Linked DNA regions of Homo sapiens: region 2 is linked to region 1. Evidence: promoter capture Hi-C in human tissues and cell types (Jung and others, 2019). All regions are on one chromosome and are shown on one strand. The core of a region is centred on a gene start or on the middle of the fragment in contact, and the rest is flanking DNA. Distances in the headings are between cores, read along the strand shown.

Region 1 (6,584 bases), core at 1,989-4,488:
AAAATAATCAAAAATAAACCAATGTCTTACATAGTCTCCCAAAGAAAAGTGTTATTTAGAAGAAGGGGAATTATATCCACCTGACGAGTGACATTATAGCCCATTTATTTCTCATCAAATACTATGGGGGAAGAGTTACATTTTGCTTTACCAGTTCAAGAGCAATTTCAAGCACTGTCAAGAAGTATTTGCTTAGTGACAAATGACACTACTCTCTTGAAAATTCAGAGATGCATCTATACCTTTTCTCTTTGCCTTTATTATTATTCTAGTTACATTTTATGTTTATCTTTATGTTTAGTAGTATTATCTCTACATCAAGGAAAGTCATATATTCTCCACCAGGCCTTTTTAGGAATAAAATAGATGGCAAACTCTCTGACACAATTTAACTATAAAACAACTTAAAGTCAAAAAAATAGCGACTTCTTTTCTGTGATGTATTTATGATTTGCTCATTTCCACAGGAATGACATTTCTAAATTTTGCACACAGATAAAACTGCCTAGGTTATTTTAAGACATGACTGATGTGCCAAAATTATCCCCACTTTAATACAGTATCTTGCAAATTTGCAAATTTCATTTATCATGAAACTTCTTAGAATTAAAAAACAGCTAAACTGGATCTACTGCTCTGGTATGTTGAGAAACCACTGTCCTAAAATAACATTTCAAATTTCACGTGTTGTGCCAAGGCAGGATTTTTAAAAATGATGTTTTGCTTTAATCTTAAGACATACTTGGATGATTCTGAATATAATTATTGAGTAATTAATGTGACACATTTTGACAAAGGTATGTATTCTAGAGTATGTTTTAAATTCAGACAAGCATTCTCTTAACGAATCATATCAGCATATTCAAGAGGGCAGGCATCATTTGAAAAGGAAATTGATCTGTTACACATTTTGACAGGCTTTAGAGCATTTAGCTGTGTTCTCTCAATTGAAAGGTGGTGAGAGTGGGTAAAAAAAAACGCTGTAAGGGTACAGTTTATCTTGTTTTGTTTTGATTTGATTTTAAAGTGGCAAACATCTTTCTAGTCACTTTTGCAAAGACACTCATTTTGTCAATCAGGGGCTGTCTTCACCATTGATAGAAAGGATTCCTGTGGGATTATTATTACGTTCCATACTTAGTTGTGTTTCAACTTCAATCTGTTTCACCAAAGCAAAGATACAGGTGATAGAAGATCATCGATGTTAAAGGAAATCGTCGTGACAACAAATTTTTCTTATTCACCAGCATGGTTCTCAAACACTTGGTTAGGAGCAATAAATTCTCATGTAAAGAAGGTATATAGAAAGATCAATATCTCCTTTTAAACAGTTTAACACATTTATTCCTAATGCATTACTACTCACTAACATGCTGAATACTGCTATGTAATGTTTTAAACATAACATATATTTAAGAGTACATGCTAAGATCATGAGTGGCAAAAATGATCAGTTGATATTTAGTTATAGATGATATGTATCAGATTATATGTAGCTGTATTAGGAGAAATTCCTGAAAGATGGATCTGGTTTCTTAATAATGCATAGGAGGCATCTGTGCACATCATTTTAAAGCATCTTCAATTTATGATAATTTAATCAAAAATTTTTTTATGTTTCTTGAGGAAATGTACCTTACAAACATTCCTAAGTGAAAAACAAAACAAAACAAAAAATATAAGTAGAAGACATATGCTTTTCGATATATGCAGATGTGTCTGTGTGTGCCTAAAATTATAAATATTTCACTGGAGCCTAAGTAAAGAATTTACTAATGTGTAAGACTGTAAAAATCAGATATTTATATAATGATATGAGCATTTCGTTCACTGTTATAAAGGCTTGGTAAAGTGGAAAACATATGTAAAGGAAAGGAGATCTGGTGGTTTCTAAATGACATAAATTGATTGTTTAAAAATTTTGAATAATTGCAGACAATAATGAAATGCTTATTCCTTTTAAAAATAAATTGTTAGTTATTTTATTTGGTCAATATAAATGTTCACATTACATTGAAATTTAAATTCTTTGAAATCAAAAATTATAGTAAGTAGGCATACTGCTGATAATTACAATATTAAGAATTTGAAAAAAGAATATATTAATGCATATAATTTTACTTAATATTGTAACTACATCTAAAACATAAATATATATTACTAAATTTTCAAATATTTTATCTAAATAATGTCTTTCTTACAGATATATTAATTCAACAAATGAATTAATAGAGCTAAAATATAAATTGACATAATCTAAAGAAAACCTTTGCCACTCTATTTAGGTATTTTTTGTTGCTAAATATTTTATGTTTTTATATTTAATAGATTTATTAAATCCCTTTGGTAAACTTATTTTGAAATATTTTATTATAATTAGTTATTCAATTAAAATTGCATGTACCAAATTAGAATTGAAACAATATAAAATGTCTTTTACAGTATGCATTTTCCTAATTTATACTTTTCTTAATTTATACTTTCATATTTGAGAAATTACCTTTTGTGTTATGTATAAATGTTATAATACATATAGGTAAATTAATATGCCTGTACAATTTTAGGCATATATGTGTTTTTATTCATAGCAATGCTAATATTTTAATTTTTTTGGAATTATAATATACTTAAAATTTTTCATATTTATTCTGTATATATTTTTTCTCATATACTTAATGATGACAACTCTATTGTTCATATTACCTGATATACATGGTAAATACATGATAAATAAAAAATAAAACCCTGAACAAAGAAAAAAGTGCAAAGAAAGACATGCAAAGAAAGGTTGATTCATTTATTCTAAGAAACTTGAGAAGTTTTAAATATCCTAACATAGGTGTAACTTCCCCCCAACACCAACAATCTGTATTACAGAGATGGAGAACTGTTCTCACAAATACGTGTTTTGAGAAAGTTCAGTACAAGTACACATCATGGTTTTAAAATTTTTAGAATATTTTCCTTATTTCCTATGTAAATATTTTCCTTAATATTTTTAGAATATTTTCCTAGCAACATTTTGTCATGTACTTTTTGACCTATTGACTCATTAAAGATGATGCATGTAGTTTATAATATGCCTGATTATCACAGTCTTACCTTTGTAACTTCAACTTCTAGAAGTTCTGTGAAAACTGAACAGCAAACTTCGTGTTGGACACATAAGGAAGAGTAGGAAAAACTTTCTTCTTTTTGCTTCACAGTCTTCTCAGCAAACTCTCGATGTGCCCCATTGCCCAGAGTTACAGACGCTTGTGCTTTTAGTACCACAACACTGTCAGTATGTCACTGCTTACTCAATGCTATTTTGGGTTCTCTGAGTAGAGTCATAAACACTGAGCCTTTTGTGCAAAATATCATAAGGGCACTCTGACGCTCGTTCATAGTCTGGAATTAAAATGCAGACAGCTACGCAAGTAGTATGAGCTGATTATCTTTGTTTTTTTTTTTTTTCCCCTAACAACAAGCAAAAACAAAATAAAGTACTTATTGGCCTGAGTTGATAAAGGGAGAATTCAACTTACATACAAGAATTTTGCAAGTAGAGCGGACGTGCCCTCTGTTTGGGGATTAGCTGATGAAACAAATGATCAATTTAAAGCAGACCCAAAACTTACTGAAAAGAGAAATGATTTTCCACTGTGTGTCTATGCCTCATGGCTGTTTCTTAATTCGGTCATTTCTCCTCAGAAATCAAGTAAAGACATAATGAGAGAGAAATGTCTAAACTTTAATAAGTCCTTTTCTTTTCCTTGGTTTATTATTATGTAAAATCTTTTATTTTATTCATGGTTATAATTAGATTTTGATATAAGCTATTATTATTTAACATAAAATACATATGTATTTTCTATGCTGTTTACTCAAGCTGTTATTTACTTAAAAACCATTTTTGAACCAAACTAGAGAAACATTAAAATATTAAAAGTTTCTTAAATTATACCTATATAATAAGAAAGTCTATGTGGGGCAGGATTATTCAAGCATCCTGTTAATTCTGATAGATATTTTGGTCACTATCCTCTTAGCTTTTGAGGAAAGAAATGGCAAAAGCTATATGGGCAGTAAAGTAGGACACTCAAGCACACACATATACACACATGCACATGTGCACACATGCATACACATACATGTGCACACACATACATATGCACACACACGCACAAATGCACATCCTATGAGGTTGTGAATATTAGGAGGAATCAATAATTTATGAACAAATCTTGAAGAGATGAACCTGGGAGAATAGATCTGTGGATAGCAGGAACAGTATAATGTGGAAATATTTTATTTTTTCAGGTAGAAAAAAGCATTCAGCTAGAAAAAAACACTTCTAAGTGTTTCAAGATGTTAGTAAATAGGGAAAAAATAAATTTTACAAAGAACCTCTGAAGTATTCTTATACATTTCCCCCTTCATATTTTTTACAGTATCAAAAAAGGTGGAGATACCTGTTTAAAATATTTATTTACATAATTCACTGTTCTGTCTATGACCTAGTCTAGGATTTCTGTAAGAATCTAACATTTTATGAGATGCCAATTTATATCTTGATGTTTATAAAATATCCAGTTGCACTTAGGATTGAAACCACAGTTTAGAGCCTCAGTGTACCTGTAAACATGATGTCCCAAAGGCTTATTTTAGAGCCTAAGGGAGCAAAGGTGGGTCACAATTTGCTGCCCTGATTATTACAGTACCAATAAAGAGCAATGGCAACTATAGAAACCACAGTGAGACAGGATTAAATTTTCTAAAGAAGGTACAGTGTGAAACTACATGTTTTATGTAGAATATCATTAACAGCAAACTGATTTTATTAAATAGATAATCTATTATCAAACACGTACAGGAACTAGTTGCTGTAAATTGCTTAAGAAATGCATGCCCTTTCTGGAAGAGGATATAAGATGAACAGCCGATAGCCAAGGATCCAGCAAGATTCATCCGCTATGCCACAACCAAGAATGAAGACTTGGAAGTACTTAGGGGACTGGTCATCAGATAAGCTTAGTGATTACTTCTTTTTTTTTTTTTTTTTTTTTGAGATGGAATCTCTCTCTGTCGCCCAGGCTGGAGTGCAGTGGCGCAATCTCGGCTCACTGCAAGCTCCACCTCCCGGGTTCACGCCATTCTCCTGCCTCAGCCTCCCGAGTAGCTGGGACTACAGGCGCCCGCCACCACGCCCTGCTAATTTTTTTGTATTTTTAGTAGAGACGGGGTTTCACCATGTTAGCCAGGATGGTCTCGATCTCCTGACTCGTGATCCGCCCGCCTTGGCCTCCCAAAGTGCTGGGATTACAGGCTTGAGCCACCGTACCCGGCCCAGCTTAATGATTACTTCTACGTCATTTTCTTTATAACAAGAGAAATATATCTGACTAATTTTTCATATATGGGGGGGTAATACATAGTAAATGGAACATGACTGTGTAAGAACAGAAGCTCAAAATTAAATACACTACTATCCATATGTAAGTCAGAGTTATCATACTCAGAGTTATCTGAGGTCCCCACAGCAGTAAACATGTGGCAGGATGGACAATTCCCGAAACACAAGTGATGTTTTATAGCTGCACAGTGACATTCTGGTCTATTTTCACATGCAGTCTGGGGGAATTTCACAGTTATCACCTGCCAGCAGGCTAAGGAACAGAGCTTGAAGTTGCAGAAGCCAGGATTGTATTGAGTTACTCTAAATAAAAATTTGAATTCAAGTATTATAATTCAGAGCCACCAATTTTTTAAACCAGATAATTAAGAAATATATATCTAATGACTAACCGCAGACAAGACTGGCTAATGAAGTTTGAATTTAACTGAACAGGCAGAAATGGAAAGTCAAACATTATGCAAGCTCTGATCTGTCCCTTGAAAATAGACATTTAACCAGAAAGTTTAAGTCTACCTACTTTATATCATAGGCTATACATGTGCCTTCAATTAGAAATTTAGGCCTTGTCCAATCAGGTGTTGTCAGGATAGCATAATCTAAGGACCACATCCTTCTCACATGGTCTGGAAGCATTTTAGTTCTTAAAAATATATTTAAGTTGTTTTGGGAAAAGCTTATAATATGTTAATACAAGAACATTTAAAACAGATATTTACTGTATGCTATCACTATATCAATGAGAAATCTATTGACTAGCAAGCAGATAGCAAAATCAAACAAAATCAAATCCAAAAATGAATAGAATAATGAAGAAATTCAATGTATACATAGAGAAATAAAGTAGGGTTAAGGGTTAGTTGATCCAGTGGCTTCCTACTGCAATCAGTTATCTAGGTTCTTGGGCTCTGTTTGGTTCTCCAACTTTTCCTCAAGGCCCTCAAAAACACTGTCACTTTCGTCTTATTCATCAAAATGATCACTTGTCCATGCATGAACAAAGAATGGCAACAAGAAAAGCTTAAAGTAATTGTCATTCCTGAACCTGAGAGAAAGAGTTAGTTGATAGAAAAACAGATTCATTTCCCCAAATTAGAGTGGAGTGGTTGAATCTAGTTGATAACCAACTAGACGTCCAGTGTTCACTTCAGATATTCATGTAAAATAGCTTTTAAAATGCTGAAAATAA
Region 2 (7,314 bases), core at 4,621-7,120, 38 kb before region 1:
TTTAGAGAACCCCTTCACCAGAAGGTGGCAGAGCTGAACATCAGGGAAACTTTTCAGTAAATTCTGCAAGGTCAGCTTGATATCTCCATTTATCTGTCCATCTATCTAACACCAATTTTGTGATATAAAATTTGGCACCTGCTTTACACCTTTCACAAATATCAGCTTAAAACAGACTGTAGATCCAAATGTGAAAGGTAAATAATAAGAAAAATAAGAATATAAATATTAGAACAATAAAACTTTCAGAAAAAAAGAAAAATAGAGGGGGAAAAGCAAAAATTTCAGAATCAGGGCAAATATATGTATATAATATTTATGGAAAACATATATTTAGTCCTGGGGAATTTGATATTTTTCTCAAAGCCCAAATCTCTTTTTCAATTTGTTAAACATATTTTTTATTACTCTTCCCAGCCTGGATTGGTTGTTCTTACTCTACTGAAGAAGGGTAGCATATTTAGGGTGCATTATCTGATAAGAACATGAAGCATGGTACAGGTCATATATACCTAACCTCTTTAGTCTCTCTTCATTCATTTGATGAACATTTTATTATGATAGCATTAATACTTGCAAAGTGGGTCTTACTCCATTGGTGGATCAAAAATTAAATTCTACATTTTATACTGGAAATAGGTATTTCTAACAAAAGACAAATAATATATATGAACATTAATAAAATCTTTTTTAGAGAAGATTTTAACATTAAATATAGCACCAGAAGAATATTCTTCATAAGTATTTACATCATTTAATGAGTTTCTTAGTTTAACTATTTTATCATACAGTGCCTTTGGGTTATCCCTTGTCCTCTTTCAGATTTAACTATATCTTAAGAGAAGTCTATTTATTGCTCATTTGTCTGACAGACTGTTTCTCACACTCCATGGAAGAAGCTACAAGTACAAAGTAAATGTTTGAAAAATTCACTCTGGCTTATTTTAATGACTTAATAATAGTCATTTTGTAAAACAGAAAATCTGGGACAAATGCTTCTAGGACATGATGACAGAAACATAGAAGTAAAGCAGAACTGTCCTGGGTAAAACTGAAGATCTGGTCACTCAATCTACCTTAAAACAACAGTGACAATATAAAGTGGCCACCAGGATAGCACACAAAATGAAAATAACGTAGCACGAGTTGTGTATATTGAATTGCCACAGCCTTAAGTCCTATTATTCCCTGCAATACACCATCCAGTAAGCAGAATTGGGTAACTACCAAATGATGGGAACTCTGAAAAGTTTAAATTAATGAGATCCTTGAAATCAAATTAGCAAGGAATGTAAACAGAGAGTGAAAAAATGCTTTTTGGGGGACCGAAGGGTCCAAAGTTCAGCATGCATACCTGAGTGGGGTCACTGTGGCTGGATCAGAGGTGCCAGTGGTATTTGGAAATGCAAAGAATCAAAATGACTTGTAGTTTGTATCCATTCTAAGTGAACAAAAGTGTGCTTAGAAAAAAAAATTCTCTTAGAATCATACTTTAATTAGAGTAGCTTATCAGTTCACTTATTCTGATAATAAACATACAAATATAATTACTAATGTAATCTTGGGTTCCATTATTGTGTGGACAGTTGACATTGTTTGCATTACTCTGGAGAGACTTTTCATAATTGCAAATTTAAAATATTAATTATGTCTTTCTAGCTAGTTTCCAAATCTTGGCAACTTTTCATAGCAAAAGGTCTTTATAAAAATAAGTTCAACACAATATTTGACTTTGCTTATTTTATCAATCACATTCTTTGCAGAAACTTATTGTAACATAGGTCAGTGGTCCTTAACTTCTTTGGCACCAGGGACCAGTTTCGTGGAAGACAATTTTTCCATGGTCAGGGTGGGGAGTGGGCATGGGGATGGTCTGGGGATGATTAAAGCGCATTACAGTTATTGTGCACTTTATTTCTACTATTACTACATTGTAATATATAATAAAATAACTACACAACTCACCATAATGAGGAATCAGTGGGAGCCCTGAGCTTGGTTTCCTGCAACTAGATAGTCCCACCTGGCAGTGATGGGAGACAGTGACAGATTATTAAGCATTAGATTTTCATAAGGAACATGCAACCTAGATTCCTCACATGTGCAGTTCACAATAGGGTTTGCAATCCTATGAAAATCTAATCCCGCCACTGATCTGACAGGAGGCGGAGCTCAGGTGGTAATGCAAACCATGAGGAGCGGCTGTAAATACAAATGAGGCTTAGCTCTTTTGCCTGCTGCTCACCTCCTGCTGTGCAGCCCGGTTCCTAAGAGGCCACAGACAAGCACCAGTCTGTGGCCTGGTTGTTGGGAACCCCTGACATAGGTGACACAGGATGTACACTTGTACCACGTGCTTGAAAGGAAAACGTTAGTTTGGTCATCTCTGGAAATTGCATTTACTGATATATTTTTCATTTTTATGACAGAAAATTTTAGTGTGATAATAGTATCTTAACAGAAGATAATATATTTGTTGTGTGTGTGAAATGAAGCATTCTTGTAATGTTTAAAGGTGCTAACCTGTATAAAACTACATAGAAATTTTAAAGATTGAGAGCATTAATGAAAGCATCAATAATAATTTATCCAAACATCAGATGTATTCTGCCATCACTGAGTAAAACCTGAGGTAAAGGTAGTGTAACTCTGTCTCTGTTGAGTTATGTAAATTTTATTATTAACCAGGAGTTATGCAGAGGATGAAACTATTCTCATGCAGATGTTTAACATGGCTTACAACTTTATTAAATGATGTTCTTTCCTGTGTCACATAGAATGCTTTATCCACTGGTGATTATGGGAAGCATATAAACAAAAAATCATAAAAAGTGAAAAATTTTCCTATGCAGACTAATTTAGATATTATGTAAGCAATAGAGAAATTAGCAACCTGTGGCGAGGGCATTTTATAATTAAAGCTTACATTTATTATGGAATACTAAAGTACAGGTGCCACAGTATGCTATAGTGTTTGAATGCCAAGATTCCAGCTGTAGATTTCAAAATGACATTTACTTTAGAATGTTATATTTTATTCATTTTGAATTCAATAGTAAGGAGATTAACTGTTCTTTTCTTACAATGTAGATATAAATTTAATGGAAAAGCTATTTTTACATCCAGTTTTAGTACAAGTATACTTTGATTAATCTGAAACAAATTTATTGAGATGTTGGGTTGTATAATTGTCAACTTCAATGTTATACAGATCAAATAATATTATAGTGATCCACACTCTGCATATGTAATTTCTGCAACAATAAAACAGGATTAAGATGAATGAGGTGATCAAATGATCAAATACATGACATAAGAGTTGTATAGGTATATCTGCTCACTCCTTCACATTGGGAACTTATTTTATTAGTACAAGGATAATTATTTTTCTACCAGTACTGACTGACCCATTCTTGCTGCATTTATACTTGAGCTGCAATTACTCTACAACCTAAAGTCTCGAAGTGAAACTCAGGAAACAGATAATATTTTCTCACTTGTCATCTTAACTGGGCAAAGTGTTCTTCAAATTTTTTATTTTTCTGTCCATAGTCACCTAAAAACTAGGTCATTTTTATTATTTTTGTGCTGCATTTTTGACACCTCTACTTTTTATAATCTGAGATAATGGAATTTAAGTAAAACAAATTAGACTGTGTTTAATAAATCAAACAATATTATATTTAGAAGAATAAGAAGAGAAATTCATCCCAGTCTCAGTCATGTTCAACTCATGTTCCCAAAGGCAAGAGATTTATAGAATCTAATTCACAAATGTGATAAATTTTGAAAATTCATGATTTTTTATTTTCCTGAGTATTAACTGAAATTAAATTTGTATAGATTTTCCATACAAAGCTTAAGGTGAATTTAATATTTCTATAAAAGCTCTCCTTTATGACATATTGTACCATATTGTTGATGAAGAATATTAAATTTTCTATATGCTTTTCCAAAAAATGCAACTTAAAATATTGCATAATAATTACAGAGATCATTATAACATATTATATTTGAATTTAAAATCTGAAATGCCAAAATAAGCTTCCTTAAATAGTAAGGTAAACAGAGTCTTACTCACTAGTTATCCCCATTCATTTTCAAAAGCATCTGGTTTTGAAAATAAAAGGAAATGGTTATTGCAAGTGGAAGGAATGTTGGACACTTGATAATATTAAAAATGATGCCCTCAGTGACTACAGATATGAAAAATTTGGTGGAGGATATTTATTTGGAAAAGCTCCAAAGAGAGTGGATAGTCTTTTTACTAGACAATATATTCTCCTTGCTTTTATTAGGCAGAAATATGTGAAACTAAATTTTAAGGAAGTCAGATTTTAAATTTTCCTTTTGCATTTGCACATACACAGACATATAAACAAAGTCTATTAACACTAATGATCATTCATAATGTGTACAATATCAATATCTATTTATTATGGTTGTTTTCCACGTAATGTGACTGGCTAAAGCATGTTTCACTTTTAGCAGGATTTTGTGCTGATTTGCAGAAGATAAGTTACCCGACTCTGCTTTGGTTTAATTGCTTATTAAGTAGTATACTACACGTATTTTAAATGCCCCTTCTTTTTTTTTTTTTTGACATTATAAGGTTTTAGGTAAAACTAGCAAATATTACTGAAATGGAAGATTACATATTTGATAGGCTGGCTATTCAGATACAATTTCAGAATGATTTCCATGAATTTCACATCTCCCGAAATCTTCTATTTATATCCTAAACTATTCTAATCACTTATTTAGCATTTTTTTGTCCACCCATGTACTCACTCATTTATTTATTCAATCCTTCCAAATCTCAGTCACTCTATGACTTGTGGTCTAATAAATCTTATATTTTTGGATGGCAGAAAAATAGTAACTTTGCAAATCCAAAGTGACAATTGGGAAAGCATAATGTTTTATCTCAACTCTACTTGAAAGTTCTAGTTTGAAGTTAATTTCATTTCAAACATAAATGCAGTCAGTAAAAGCCCATCATTACTTGTAAAGAAATGTGTGTTTAATAAGCAACAAGTTAATAATTTTCTTGATTTTATCTCATGACATAATGAAATATGGATTCCCTTCAGTAATTCAAACCAAATTCTGAGTTCAAGTGCAGATTCAAATATAATAATAGGCAGTTCACTTCAATACAACAGAAATATATGTAAGAAAAAGAAACAGCAAAATGTTTGCAATAGTTGTTTTTGAAGAATAAAGTAGCTGGCTAGGAAATTTGGAAGTAAGGTCAATATTCAAAAACTTAAATGGCCGTGGATATAGAAAGATAATGAAGAATTGAAGTTATATTTAGGTAATAAAACCCGCAGTATTCATTAATTTAATACTGAGATTGAGGAAAAAAGATAAATCACATATAATTTTATTAATTGATTTATTTACTTCACAGTCAACACAAATGCAGGAATGCTTCAGAAGGAAACCGTTGCTAGAAGTTTGGCAAAGCAATAGAAATATTCCCCTATTTCCATATTATATAACACTTCTAATAGCAACTGACCATCACTCAGCTGGCCTCTCCCTCTCATGGAAAGGTTACACAAAGTGCTCATTAGTTCTTGCATGATTTCATACAAAGCCTGGACCCTAACTGGCACTCACACAGTATGTATTGATTACACAAATTGAAAAGATAATTTGTACCTCTATCTCAAATTGCAATGCACAAAGAGATTTGTGCTTGCTAGATATTGCACAGACCAAACCATCTTTTGCAATCTCTCTGAACATCTACAGTGGGGCTGCACTGATACCATGATACCAATAATTCTCTCATGGGTTCACTACCCAACTCTGTAAAATGGCAGTATTGTACCTCCTCTTCTCTAAAATTTTACCCATGCTCTCTCAATTACTGCCTTCGCATTATGCTTCACTGACAAAATAGAAACGTTTATTAACTGATTGGTTATGAACAAATATGTTAACATATAATCTGTCCCTTCTATAAGTACAATGGATTCCATGACCCTTTCTTTTTTTTTTTTTTTTTCAAGAACAGTGTTTTAGAAGTTATGTCCTTTTACTTTGCTTCAAATAATATTATTCTCTGGAATCATTCCCCATAGTATATAACAGTGCTGTTCAATTTCCTTTCTTAAAAAACAATTGAATAGTCATAAACAAGCAAAAAGTCCTCTTGACCTTCATCTTTTTCTACCTAGCATCTCACATTTCATTTTCTCCCTGTGGCGTAACACCTTTTAGACTTGGCTTAAATCATTATTACTTCCTCTTATTCTTCCTTTTATGCCATACAATAGTCTTCAGTGTGCTGTAATAGCACAAATTAAACTGTTGTACTTATCAAAAAACCAGGGGTCTTCAACTTACCAAATCAAAAGTCACCACTCTGTCTTAATCTTAGCCTCACAGCAGCATTACACACGGTTGAGGGATTTCTTCTTTTGGAACATCTTTTCTCATATTTTTCCCTTCTTCCTACAACGCTTGCCAATCCCACTCATTCTAATTTGCCAGCCGACTGCTTTTTGCTTAACAGTCAAGTCAGCCTGGATGCTTTTCTCTTCTCCAGCTACGTTCTCTGCCAAAGGGATCTCATTCATTGCCATGCCTGACATACGTGTTATATGTTGATGACTTCCATATTGATGTATACAGCCCTGAGCACTCTGCTATGGATTCTTTTTTCCTAGAATGTGGTATGGATGGCCTCTTTGTATAATTCACCTCAAATATCACCTCCTAAAATGTCCCGTTTCCTCCAGACAATTAATAATCATCATACCTCACCCATACATAACACTTTTATACTATACATGATCATATATTACCTCCTTTAATTAAAATAACTATTTCTTATTTGTATATAACTAAAATGTGTTTCATATTAGCAGGTAACTCCTTTATCTCCTTTACAATTTTATCTATAGTTTCAAAGGAAGATTCCTAGCATGTTACATCATAATATATGCAAGAAGAAGAAGAAGCAGTGGCAGAGGAAGAAAAGCAAGAAGCAGAGGGAGGAAGGAGGAAGAGAGGGAATAAGGAGACAGAGGGGAGGGCAGTAAGGGAAAGGAGTAGAAGGTGGAGAAGGGGGAGGAGGAGAGGGAGGGATGAGGAAGGTGAACTGTTTCTTTGCCTACCTACCAAAATAGAGTAATTTAAAGTGCTATTTACATCTCATAATAATTTGTCTTGATATATATTACACAGGCAAATTTGTTTCTGCTGTATTTAAAGACCTATGTTCCAAACAATGTAGAAATACATCTTTAAATTCCTACCTGGAATGTTAAAAATCAAGAATCAGAAAATTATATGATG

Evidence for each region. The method cuts DNA at HindIII sites, captures the fragments that hold promoters and counts their contacts. A contact is called where the count stands out against the background at its distance.
Region 2: a fragment that was not itself captured here is called in contact with the fragment with the promoter of CDH19 in region 1 in 2 of the 25 tissues and cell types used here (hippocampus and pancreas).

Annotation. Positions count from the first base shown.
Region 1 is chr18:66,600,852-66,607,435 of GRCh38, forward strand. CDH19 (cadherin 19) reads right to left here and starts at 3,239. Exons shown (of 12, transcript NM_021153.4): 1 at 3,103-3,239. The HindIII fragment of the contact is 13,282 bases long and covers 1-5,541 here.
Region 2 is chr18:66,560,279-66,567,592 of GRCh38, forward strand. All of the region lies in intron 3 of CDH19 (cadherin 19), which reads right to left. Among named protein-coding and RNA genes, the nearest start is that of CDH19, 40 kb to the right of the region's middle. The HindIII fragment of the contact is 4,962 bases long and covers 3,390-7,314 here.